Regions from separate parts of the Homo sapiens genome. Here all the other regions are linked to region 4. The links are contacts of gene promoters, found by promoter capture Hi-C in blood cells and fetal thymus (Javierre and others, 2016). All regions are on one chromosome and are shown on one strand. Each heading gives the region's core, a stretch centred on a gene start or on the middle of the fragment in contact. The rest is flanking DNA. Distances are from core to core; before and after follow the strand shown.

Region 1 (2,852 bases), core at 236-2,735, 310 kb before region 4:
GGGGTCGCGGGAGCCCAGAAGCCCAGCAGCATCTCTTCCAGAACATTATCAAAGCTGTCACAAAAGCCCACCCAGAGCCTAACAGAGGGGACATGAGACACCGCCCTTTGAGGGAGTGCAAGGTGCTATAAGCCCCTGTGGGACAGACATCTCTCGTGGCCTCTTCTGGAACATGCGGGCTGCCGGGCAGCCCTGCCTTCCTCCCTTAGCCTCACTCCTGCAGAAGCCAGCCATCTCTCCCCATCCCACTTGCCTTGCTTCACCCCAGCTCAAGACATCACCTAATTCCTGGGGCTTTAGAACTCACTCTTTAAGCAGCTGTCCTTGTCACTCCAATTTAACTTAGACCAGCAAATTGGCCCATGTGTGAAAGATGTGTTGAATTACTTCTCACAGGTATCCTCAGACCCATCTTGCTCGTTGGGTGCTTGGGAGGAGAGCCCTTTGGGATTAACAGAGAATGAGGATACACACTTGCAAGCACCCCAAAATGTCCCCCACTGCACCTCACCCCACTGCCAAGGCATTATTTTAAGATAAGCAAGTGAGCAGTGGCTCACACCTGTAATCCCGACACTTTGAGAGGCCAAGGCAGGTGGATCACCTGAGGTCAAGGGTTCAAGACCAGCCTGGCCAACATGGTGAAACCCTGTCTCTACTAAAAATACAAAAATTAGCTGGGCATAGTGGCAGGTGCCTGTGATCCCAGCTACTTGGGAGGCTTAGGCAGGAGAATCACTTGAACCCGGGAGGCAGAGGTTGCAGTGAGCTGAGACTGCACCATTGCACTCCAGCCTGGGCAACAAGAGCGAAACTCTGCCTCAAATAAATAAATACATAAGTGAAAAAAATAACTTACCTGATACCACAGAGTTAAGGGACAGAGTGGTGGGGCTGAGGTTTGAACCCAGGCAATTTGACTCCAGACACAATATCCTAATTCCCACCCAGTGGCAACATCTACCAGTGAAAAGGCCTCTGTATCCAAGCATGTCCACCTTGAACCCATTGTTAAAACACAGATTCCTGGGCCCCACCACACAGGTCCAGGGTGGGGGCCCAGGACGCACATTTTGAATTCTTCTGACAAGCTCCCCAGGGTTACCTTGGGTGCTGCTGGCCCACAGACCTCCCTTTGAAGGGCCCTGCACTCTATCATCACAACAGTGACACAGTCTCTGGGCCCTCACGGCATGACTGTAAAAACCAGAGAAGAGAAAAGGAAAACTCTTATTTCTTCCTCTCTGAATACAGCAGCAAATTCTTGCATGATAATAATGTAAAAACAGAAAATCTTTTGTTAAAACTCTCTTAAATGTGTATGTTTATGTATACATATATTTTGCAATGCATATTTTTATTTTATAAGCAAAATTAGTTTTTCTTTTAATAAAAACCATATACAGTTTAAAAAATAATCAAAGAAGAGAATATTGGTGACAATCCTAAACATAATAGAGCTCTTTGAAAAAGTAAAGGGTGGCTATTTAGATTATTGATTTTGGTGTTATCTTACGGGTCTGATTCAACAAAATTCCCAGCCCCATCTTCTGAATACCTGGGTTACAAGCTGGAGTCCGTGCAATTATGAAATCCCAGGCACGTCTCCATCAGAGCTCTATTTTTGCCATTAATATTCTAATAAGAAAGGCTAAATGGAATCAGTAGGAAGCCATGTGAACTGTCTGCGGAAAAGACTACAAAATTTTTTTATTGTTATTATTTCAGTTTGTAGACATTTCATTGTAATGGGTGAAATCAGAGGCCTGAGCTGAGACTTAATCTGTATTTTGTGGTACAGCGAGGAATATTTTCCCCTCCTAATCTCTACTTAAAGTGTAAGTAAGAGTGCCTCTATCCATCGCTGTGAACAAAAAGCACAAAAGGATTCAGAAAGTAATAACAAAGATAAATAACTTTGCAATAAAATTTCAGCTCCAGTAATTTTCCATTTATATTTTCTCACTGAATCATGTAGTCCTGAGCATTGCACTATTCACGTCTGAGCTGCATCATGCAAAGTAATTTCATATCTAATGCTTCCCAGAGAGTCCCAAATAACGCCCCATGCCCCATGCACCACTGTGCAGCCAGTGAGTCACACGGTTCACCCCAATAATAGGACTTCCCGTGTGATTTCATTGTCTTTCCCAGGCAATCAGTCTCAACATCGCAGAGAGAACAAATTGTCAGGAAGCCCCTCCAGCAAAGGGGGTCCCATGCTATTACTTATGCCACTTATTGTTGGAAGCTGAATGCTGAACGTGGTTTTTCTGGGTGAAACCACTGACGTGGTTTTCAGCCAGCAAGTGTAGGCCTTGGTTAGCAAGGCAATAGTTAAGTGCATTAGGGGACCTCAGGGAATGTTCCAGAGCGAAAAGGGAGGTGAAAGGGTGGGAGGAAGAAAGCAGGAGGAGCAGAGCCATTCTTCAGGCTCCAGATAGGGAGCGCACTCTGCTCTCCTGAAAGAAATCTCCCTCTCCCTATCGCTCTATTTCTCCATCTCTCTCCACCTCTGTCTCTGTCTCTAGGTCTCCATTTCTTTCTCCATATCTGTCTTTCCCTCCTTTACCCTCTCTCTCTCCCCTTGCCTCAGTTCTTTTTCCCCTCGTCTCTCCTCACTCTTCCTCCCCGTCTTCTTTGTCTGTAGAGAGATGTTCTCCATCCAGCCTTCTACCTTTTCTTCTCCTTTCCCATCCATCCATCCATCTCCCTCTCTCCTCACTCTCTTCCTTTTCTCTCCAGGTCCCTTGCCCTTTTAGCCCTCCCATTCCTCTCTCCACTCCCCTCACCTCCACTCTGGACATCTTTCTCTCTGAGCCAACCTAAACCAGATGCAGCAAGGGCTCTGT
Region 2 (3,027 bases), core at 403-2,902, 260 kb before region 4:
TGCCGTTGCTTCATTGCTTAGCAATGTTGGGGTAAAGGGGCACTGGAACTCAAGCTGGGGCAATCTCATGAGCTCTCTTTCCACCAACCCCCAGATATTCTGTTAGCCAAGATGACACAAGATAGGGAAAAGAGTTAACCTGATTCCCACCAGATACACTGAGTTGAGATGCCTGGTGCCAGCTCCTGCTACCTGGACCATAACTCTGCCCTTGATCTTGCCATTTCCCAAGCAGAGTTCTCATGCTCTTACTAGATCCTCTTCTGCTTAACCAGAGTTTGTGACCTGGGTAACCCTCACTGGCCCAAACTCATTTTGACAGATCAAATGATTCCTCCTCACCTGAGAAGAAGCAGCTAGAAGTACTCCCAGACACTGCAGGGCATCTAGTCTTCCTCCTCTGCAACAAGAGCCTGGCAGTGTCCCCCTCCCCTCAAAGGATGGCCAGGCCAGCACCCAGCACAGGAGGCCCAGAGCTCCTCCATTGTGGCCCTGAATAATGGAGGGGATGGCACAGATCCACAGTGAAGTATGTGCCCTCTGGACCAAGGCTGTCCAGCTTGAATCCCAGCTCTGCTCCTCACCACTGTATGACTTGGACAAGTCACCAAGTCACCTCGCCCCCATGTGCCTCCATTTCCTCATCTACCAAATGCAGCTAATGCCATTGTTTTTATCTCAAAGGCTTGTTTTAAGGATTAATGAGTTAACATGTGTAAAGCACATAGAACAGCACTTGACCCAAATATTCATTTACTAAGTTTTAGCTATTCTACTCTTCCTCTTATTACTGTTGTTAAAAAAAATAAGTAGCATTCTCACCAATTTAGTTTAGAGATGTAGCTGGCTTTCATTAGTGAGTCATGTGTCAGGCAACATTCCATCTAAAGCTTTAGAAAGAAGATCCTGTAAGCTGAGAAAAGGAGATGGACTTTATGGCTGAAAAAAGGAATAAAAAGTAGAATGGGCATTACAGGTTACTTTCCTTATAAGGTCAAAATGGAGGGAACTTCTGTATCATGCTGTTTCAGACAAATGGGGCTTCTTCCAACTGCTGCTAGGAATCTCCTGTTTTTTGGAAAACTGGTCCGTATGAGTCAGTTTGATTACATGGCACTTAGTATGGATGAATCCATTCTGGTCTGGTTGGTCTGTTGCGCCTAAAACGGAGCTCATTCTAAACAATGACCCCCATCATTGTTATACAACATTATCATGATTTCTACTGTCCTCTTCAGCCTGCAAATGTGCCCTGGTTCAGGCTGTGGTCACAGACTTTACAGATGCTGGTTTGCCAGCACATCAAGAGCTGATCCTTCTCACAATGGCAACCCCACATATGCCAAGTTTTTACAGCTGAAGTCTAAGCTCCAAATGCCAATTTTTAACTTACAGTAACTCATCTCTGTCATTTTGTGGTCAAGAACACAGACTCTGGCATCAAACCCACCTAGATTCAAATCCCAGTGATGCCACCTGCACACTGTGGATTGTTAATCCCCTCTCTCAATCCTACCTCATAGGATTGGAGCGGGGATTGACACAAAATAATATGCACAGAGGGCTTCCTGGGGAGCCTGGCACCTAATAAGTGTTCAATAAATGGCAGCAAAATGTCCTGTAATTATCATGGTGATTGAAAAGATTGCCCGTGCATGGTAGGCATAAGAAGCCAACTTGTATTCAGAGCATCATTTGTTTGATTTTAGAATGAGAAGTAACTCATGCTGGGCACAGGATGCTCAAAGTCTCTATGATTCCTGCATTATTTCCCTGCAGGCAGACAATGGGGGTACCACAAATAATCAGCACATAGCCTGGGGAGCCTGGAATAGACACAGGAAGAGGGAGGGGTGTTCAATGTTTAATGTCACTGGGTTAGGAAGATGCATCAGCTTCACCTGATGGGCTTTGCCACCCTGGCCAGATTGCCTCCATGGCTAAAGCTCTCTCTACCCCTCAGAGAGGTTCTAAATGAAACTCCCAGTATTTGCCAGTGGGATTTATACACAGCTTCCTGAGCACAGCAAACCTTCTTTGAATGACACAACCTCATCCTGAAGTTGTTAATAAATTCACCCAGGTCCCAGCCAGCCTTCTCTCTCCCTCCCTAGCTGGCTCTGCCTCTCTCATCTGGGGAATTACGTGTTGATCTATTTCTTAAAGCCCTGTTGAAGCCAGTGTTTCTAAGTTCTGCAGGAGAGGGAGGCATCTCAATTCAGCCTCCCAATACCGTTCGTAACTGAACACTTAATCCAGGGTAACTTGATCTCTTCTGTCCTAAAGTTGCATGTGTAATTGAACTCAATTTTTAAAAATTACATCATGTTTCTGCATAGAGGAAAAGCACCAGCTTCCATTACAGGATGTCCCATTATGCAGTAGGCACCTATAATGTCACCATTCTAAGCTTTCAACATAGTGTATCTTATACAATCCTGAAAGGAAACCCCTGTGGGATACCTCTCAGCAATGAAAAGGGGTGAACTACTGATGCGTGAGAAAACCTGGTTGGATTTCAAGGGAATTACCTTGAGTGAAAAACACCAATCTCAATGGGTTACTTAGTACATGATTCCATTTATATAACTTTCTTAAAATGGCAAAATTTTAGAGATGGGAGGCAGGTCCATGGTTGCCAGAGTTTGACAAGGAAAGCGCGTGGTGTGGCTATGACAAAGTGGCACAAGGGGCCTTATGACGGATATGCTGTTTCTGGACTGAAGTGATGTTCACAAGAATCTACACGTGGCATAAAATTACAGGGAACTAAATACCCACGTGTAGGGAAGAAAAAGCACCTTTTCCTCACCCATGGCAAGGGTCTTGACCGACAACCCTGTAACAAAAGGCAGATTGCCAGGAGAAAGCATAACACATTTATTTTTATAAAGGTTAATGTGAGGAGCCTCCCGAAATGAATATTCAAAGACCCAGGGAAAACTATGTATTTTTATAATAAGTCTGATGAAAAATTTAATTTGTGGAGAAGTAAAATGGAACAAAATGGGTATGATCTAATGGTAA
Region 3 (2,831 bases), core at 199-2,698, 290 kb before region 4:
AAACAACAGAAATATATTCTCTCCCAGTTCTGGAGGCCAGAATTCCAAAATCAAGATGTCAGCCAGGTTGGTTCCTCCTGGGGCTCTGAGGGTGAGTCCTCCCCTGCCTCTCATCTGCCCTCTGGTGGTCCTTGGGGGCAAGTGATGCTGATGGTTACATCTCCCAAGTCCCATGGCCAGGTTTGGTCTCCATCGGCCAGGCCAGTCACTTAACTGAAGCTTACAACAGATCCTTCATAGGATAAAATAAGATGATATCTTAGTCCAAATAAACAACACAAAATTTATTTCTTGGATGAACATGGTGACTTACGCCTATAATCCCAGAATTTTGGGAGGCCGAAAAGGGAGGACCGCTTGAGCCTGAGAGGTTGAGGCTGCAGTGAACTATGATTGTGTCACTGCACTCCAGGCTGAGTGACAGACAGAGTCCCCGTCTCAAAAAATAATAATAATAAAACAAAACAAAATAAAATAAAATATGCATTTCTCACAGTTGTGGGGGCTGGAAGTCCAAGACTCAGATGCCACACATTCAATGTCTAGTGAGGTCCGGCTTCCTGGTTCCTAGACGGCTGTCTTCTTGCTATGCTCTCAAGTGGTAGAAGGGCTGAAGAGTCTCTCCAGGGCCTTTTTAAAATAAAGTCACTAATCCCAATTACATTAGAGATTAGGATTCAAAATATAAATTTGGGGAGATCACGTTCAGGCCATAGAAGATGACTTTGTGAATTGCTTTCCACAGCGTCTGACACAAAATAGGTGTTCCATCATGATTTCCTGCCATCAGCTGCAGCAGCAGCATTTTGTCATACCTGGGTACAGCCGCCGTGTCTGGTTGTGACAATGGGACACCTTGGGTTTGCATCTGGCCCAGCTCAAACATTCCAATGCACTCAAACATTCTCTAGCACTCAGTTCAACTCAGCAAATGTGTACTGGGTGCCCGCACACCCAGCACTCTGCTAGCGCTGAAGTTACTGAGACAATGAGGCCCTGACCTCAAGGAGGAGATGGAGAAACAGAGACACAGCTGTTCAAAGGGATGGAGGCTGGAATCCCAGGCTACCTTTCACCAGCATGACTGACTTGGTCAAGTTCCTGAAACCTCTCTAAACCTCAGTTTCCATATGTGTAAGCAGAATGTATAGGACAACTCCTACTTGTTGGGGAGGCTGGCAGGGCCCAACAAGGCAGCACTTTCAAAACTCTCGATAAAGAGTAACCGCTTAATAAATGTTAGTGATTATCATCATGGGCAAAGCAGGAGAGGAGAATGGGGTGGACGGGAGTTGTGGAAGGAGAGGTGTTGGGGATGGTTTTGCCAAGGCAAGCTCTGCAAAAGAGGTAGAAAGTGAAGCCAGGCATTCTGGGGGGCAGACCCCCTGGGAAGGCGGTGAGGGACACACGTTCTAGGCACTCCTGACTAATGTGAGGGGCCATCACATAGTGGGGAATATAATATATGGGAGAACAGAGATGTTTCCAGAGGCAGAACAGGCCCTAAGCCCAAGCTGAGGTTTTCCTTCTGGTTTCAGGGAAAAAGAACTTCAGGTTCGACCCTCTCTGGGACTTTCTAGACATGAGATTCTCTGAAAGGACATTTCCATTCCTGTTCCTGAAGTCTTATCTCCAGAAAAAAAAAGAAAAGAAAAAACTGTACTAGGGCTGTTAGGACTGGTGGTTCTTTATTCTCTGAAAGTAATACAAATTTGAATATTACTTTAGCATTTACAAAAACTATCTATGACCCTGAGATCGCACCACTGCACTCCAGTCTGGGCAACAGAACGAGACTCTGTCTCAAAAACTTAAATTAAATTAAATTTAAATTAAAAAGTGGGTATAAATACGACTGCAGAACTGCCCTGGCCTGCTACTCTCAGCACACCGCCTATGGGGTGGCCTGTTCTGTGGGAGCAGTCACGGGGCTGTAACACTGCCATCTCAATAAAGCATTTTCTTCTACCACCAGCTTACCCTCAAATTCTTTCCTGGGTGAAGCAAAGAACCCTTTTGGTCTAAGCCCCAATTTGGGGCTCCCCTGCCCTGTATCAATGTAATTTTTAGGAAGCTCCATTTTTTCATCTACAAAACATGGATGATAAAGACAGTATCTACCGCATGGGGTTAAATTGAATATTATATATGAGACTATAAGCACACTGCCCAGCACAGAGTAGGTTATCAGGAAGTGGTGGTTATAATAATAATAGTGTATGTTATGGTTATTATATTTCTGCTTCTAAGAGATCTTAAATCCATGCACATTCTCTCCATGCCATCAGCTTAGTCTAGGCCACCATTATTTCCAGGCTCTGGCACCACCTCCAAATGGCCCCTCACTTCCACTCTTCTCCTCTAATACATTCTCTATATCACAGCAAGAAGAATGAGCCTATCACATAAATTAGGTTGCTTTTCCTGTTGCTGAAATCCCTGCAATGGTTTTTCCATTATTTCTCCAAAATCCCTCCCTCTGGGCTGCACAGTCTGTGCCCCGGCCCATGATCCTTTCAGAGCACTGAGCCACAATCAACTTCCTTTACTCCCTGGAAAATCCTACTCATGCCCTGCCCCAGGGCCTTTGCACAGGCCACTCCCACTCCTTGGAGCTTGCTCCCGGGTGTTCACTATCTTGGAACAATTGCCTCCTCCTCATCCTTTCCAAGCTTCTCAGAGATGCCTTCTTTGTAACAACCACCTAAAGCATCACTCATCACACACAACAGTAAAAGTATTCTGTGTAGGTAGTCATTCTCTTTTGTGCTGTTTCTCCCATTAGACTGGAGAGAGAAGTAAAGGAGAGAGCAGTGTTCGTGTTCTTGCCC
Region 4 (2,965 bases), core at 144-2,643:
TACACCTGTGTACCTTAGATTGCATATGTAATCTGTCAGCTCTGAATTAAAAAACTAAGATATCAAAATTAAGTTCAATGGGGGTAGTTACAAAGTTGTCAAGAAGTTGGTAATTCTAGCTAAGCAGAATATTTAAAACACCTCTGAGAGCTTATTTACTGTGATTTGATCTGCTCTGGTCCACAACTGAGCTTTGATTCTATTACCTTGTGTTTATTTTTTTCAGGTGCTTTCCACCGCACATTTAAATCTTAATCCCATATTTTTAAACAATTAGTGCCTTTTAGATAAGAAATTAAAATGTTATTAAAATATAATTTTAAATTTTGATTTGAAGATACCTATAAAAGTTTAACTACACATACAATTCAACTTTTAAAAATTGATCCGACACAAATATTAATCCAAAGGTGGTTTGCTGCAGTATTATTTGTAATAGAAGTGTAGGCTCATCAGTGGAGGATTGAATTCCTCGGATGAAGTTAATCCACATGATTAAATAATTACGAAGCTGTTAGAAAGACCGAGCTGCATCTCAGTGCACGTGGAACAGTTTCCATCTCAGAACGCGAGCACGGGGAAAACACGCAGAAGACTGAGCGCCGAACACCGACGCCCTCTGCGAGCCAAGGGGCAAGGAGACCCTTTCGCGGCTGTGCCTGTCTCAGAAGGGCCTGCGATTTTTTACACAAGCACCCGCTGGCTGCATAAGTTAAACGGATCTCTTAAATGGAAGCGTCTGAAAGAGCCTAGGAATACACAGTTGGGTACCCAGCTCAGCACCCCGTCTCCGGACCTGCGGTCTCTCCCGCCCTCCGGCACCCGCACCCAGGAGCCCAGGCGGCCCTGCGCCCCCTGCCGGCAGGAGCCAGGCCTCACCCAGGAGTCGTCGGCCCGGCGCCCTGGTCCCCCGGTCCAGCTCGCCCCTGCAGGGCTGGCTGGAGCCGCGGGTCCCAGTGGCTCTGGGGACGCATAGCGCGGGGATGGGCTTCTCCTGGTCCCGCCCGCGCTTCCGTCCCTTCCATCCCTTCCTGCTCGCCTGTCCCGGGACCAGGGCCCCAGTCAAGGCAGCGAGTCTCCTCGCTGGCGGGGGTGACTCCGCTCGCGGGGCGTTCATCAGGAGAGCATAGCGCGAGAGGACGGGCCGAAGCGCGGGGACAGCGGGGACCCACTAACCTGAGGGCCTGGCCTGAGCCGCGCCCACAGCGTCCCCCTTGGCTCAGGCCTCGGGCGACCCCGGCGAGCGTTGGCGGGGGTGGGGGGGATGGGGGGGGCGGGACCTGGCTGGCGGCGACGCCGATTGGACGCACTATCGACCGCACCTGGCGCGGATTGGACGGGCGCTTCCCGCCTTCCGCCGTTCGCCGGAGGCGCTGCGGCGGTCCCTGAGGCGCAGAGTTGCGACGCTCGGCGGCATAGGGGGCGGCTCCACCGACACTACGCGGACGCCTCCTGCCGCAGGCAGGTTGAGCAGAGTGCCTGGGTGGGCTTCCCCCACGGCGGGGCGCGGAGGGAGGGTGGGGCTTCGGCTTGGCCTTTCAAGCCGGCAGGCGAGAAGCTTCCGACGGTTGAGGCGGAGCCGTTGTGGAAGCTGCCGAGGGGGAGGGGGTGCGGTTCTGCGGCAGTGGGCGGAGGGGAGGCGCCGAGGCTGGGCCAGGGCGTGGGCTGTGCAGAGTTCGCGGCGAGGGTGGCTCGCGCAGGCGCGAGGCTCCCCATCAGCACCTGCCTGGCCAGCCTCGGCCTCGGGGATGGGAAATGGGCGCTCGGAGCCGCCCCCGCGCGTGGGCGACTCGGTCAAGGTGGCTGAGGCGCGGGGCGGTGCGCTTGGCGAGCGGGGAGCAGGCCTGGGGCTGCGCGCGTCGCCGGCCCGAGGAGGCTGAGGGGTGCGGGAGAAGCGGTGGCGACGGGAGCCCTGGGGACCGCTGCTCGCCTGTCTCCGGGACATCTGAAGGGGGGTTGGCGCTGCGGCCTGGGGCGCATCTCGGGTGTGTGTGTGCTTTGTTGGTTCGGGGGTGACCCTGGGAAAAGGGTCACCGTGCCGGCGGTGGGAGCAGGGACTTCGCCTTCGGCCTCGTTGTTGCCACTGCCGGTTCCACTTAGGGAAGAAGGGAGTGCGCGCAAAACCTTCCTCCTGCTCGGCGCCTTCAGTCCCTTCTCTCCCTCCCGCCGTCCCCACCTGCGGCCTCTCCTTGCGGTTGAGGCCGCCAGCCCCTCCGCGCAGCTGGGCCTGATGCGTCCCGCGGCGGCTCAATGCGCGACACGTGGCTCCACGTGCGGCCTTTTCTGGACCGGGCTCCAGGCTGGCCGAGCATCTGCGAATACGGCAGCGTGGTTTTTTTTTGTTGTTTTTTTTCCCGAGACGGAGTCTCGCTCTGTCACCCAGGCTGGAGTTTAGTGGTGCGATCTCGCGTCACTGCAACCTCCATCTTCCGGGTTCCAGCGATTCTCCTGCTTCAGCCTCCGGAGTAACTGGGACTACTTGGCGCGCCACCACGCCCAGCTAATTTTGTATTTTTAGTAGAGACGGGTTTTCTCCATGTTGGCCCGGCTGGTCTCGAACTCCTGACCTCAGGTGATCCACCTGCCTCGGCTTCCCAAAGTGCTGGGATTACAGGTGTGAGCCACCTCGCCCGGCCTACATTTTTTAGTAATGATGGGAGGAGGAGGACGCCTTCCCTCCCCTTCATTCACCTTTAATGTCTTTTTGGACACCTTAGCTATGTTAGTTACCAGGGCAGAGGGGACTTTGAATTATCTACTGCTGCTTGCATTCATTCAGCAGTTTTTCCTTTGGGGGAAAATCTTTGCCTCCCCCATCTGCCAAATTGTTTTCTTTGTTGTTGTTTTTATCCGTAACGCTTTTATCTGCCTGCAGATACACAATCATCATCTTACTAGTTCTCTGTGTTGCTCGCTAACCAGTCCCCCAGTTCAGTAGACTGGAGCCCAGAGCCTGCTTACTTGT

Evidence for each region. Contacts are between HindIII fragments. The CHiCAGO score rates a contact against its expected background, and 5 or more counts as called.
Region 1: a fragment that was not itself captured here is called in contact with the fragment with the promoter of SYCP2 in region 4 in 1 of 17 cell types (neutrophils); the score reaches 5.9 in neutrophils.
Region 2: a contact is called between a fragment that was not itself captured here and the fragment with the promoter of SYCP2 in region 4, in 1 of 17 cell types (neutrophils). The highest score is 5.4, in neutrophils.
Region 3: a contact is called between a fragment that was not itself captured here and the fragment with the promoter of SYCP2 in region 4, in 2 of 17 cell types (neutrophils and monocytes). The highest score is 5.5, in neutrophils.

What each region holds. Positions count from the first base shown.
Region 1 is chr20:60,244,383-60,247,234 of GRCh38, reverse strand. All of the region lies in intron 3 of MIR646HG (MIR646 host gene), which reads right to left. Among named protein-coding and RNA genes, the nearest start is that of MIR646, 63 kb to the left of the region's middle. The HindIII fragment of the contact is 4,957 bases long and covers 1-2,852 here.
Region 2 is chr20:60,190,393-60,193,419 of GRCh38, reverse strand. The region is part of intron 3 of MIR646HG (MIR646 host gene); the gene reads right to left. Among named protein-coding and RNA genes, the nearest start is that of MIR646HG, 53 kb to the right of the region's middle. The HindIII fragment of the contact is 1,520 bases long and covers 893-2,412 here.
Region 3 is chr20:60,222,435-60,225,265 of GRCh38, reverse strand. All of the region lies in intron 3 of MIR646HG (MIR646 host gene), which reads right to left. Among named protein-coding and RNA genes, the nearest start is that of MIR646, 85 kb to the left of the region's middle. The HindIII fragment of the contact is 2,453 bases long and covers 222-2,674 here.
Region 4 is chr20:59,932,065-59,935,029 of GRCh38, reverse strand. It overlaps SYCP2 (synaptonemal complex protein 2), which reads left to right and starts at 1,393. Exons shown (of 45, transcript NM_014258.4): 1 at 1,393-1,461; 2 at 2,876-2,965. It also overlaps a transcript of FAM217B not described here. RefSeq lists a silencer at 703-1,102. The HindIII fragment of the contact is 1,592 bases long and covers 1-1,560 here.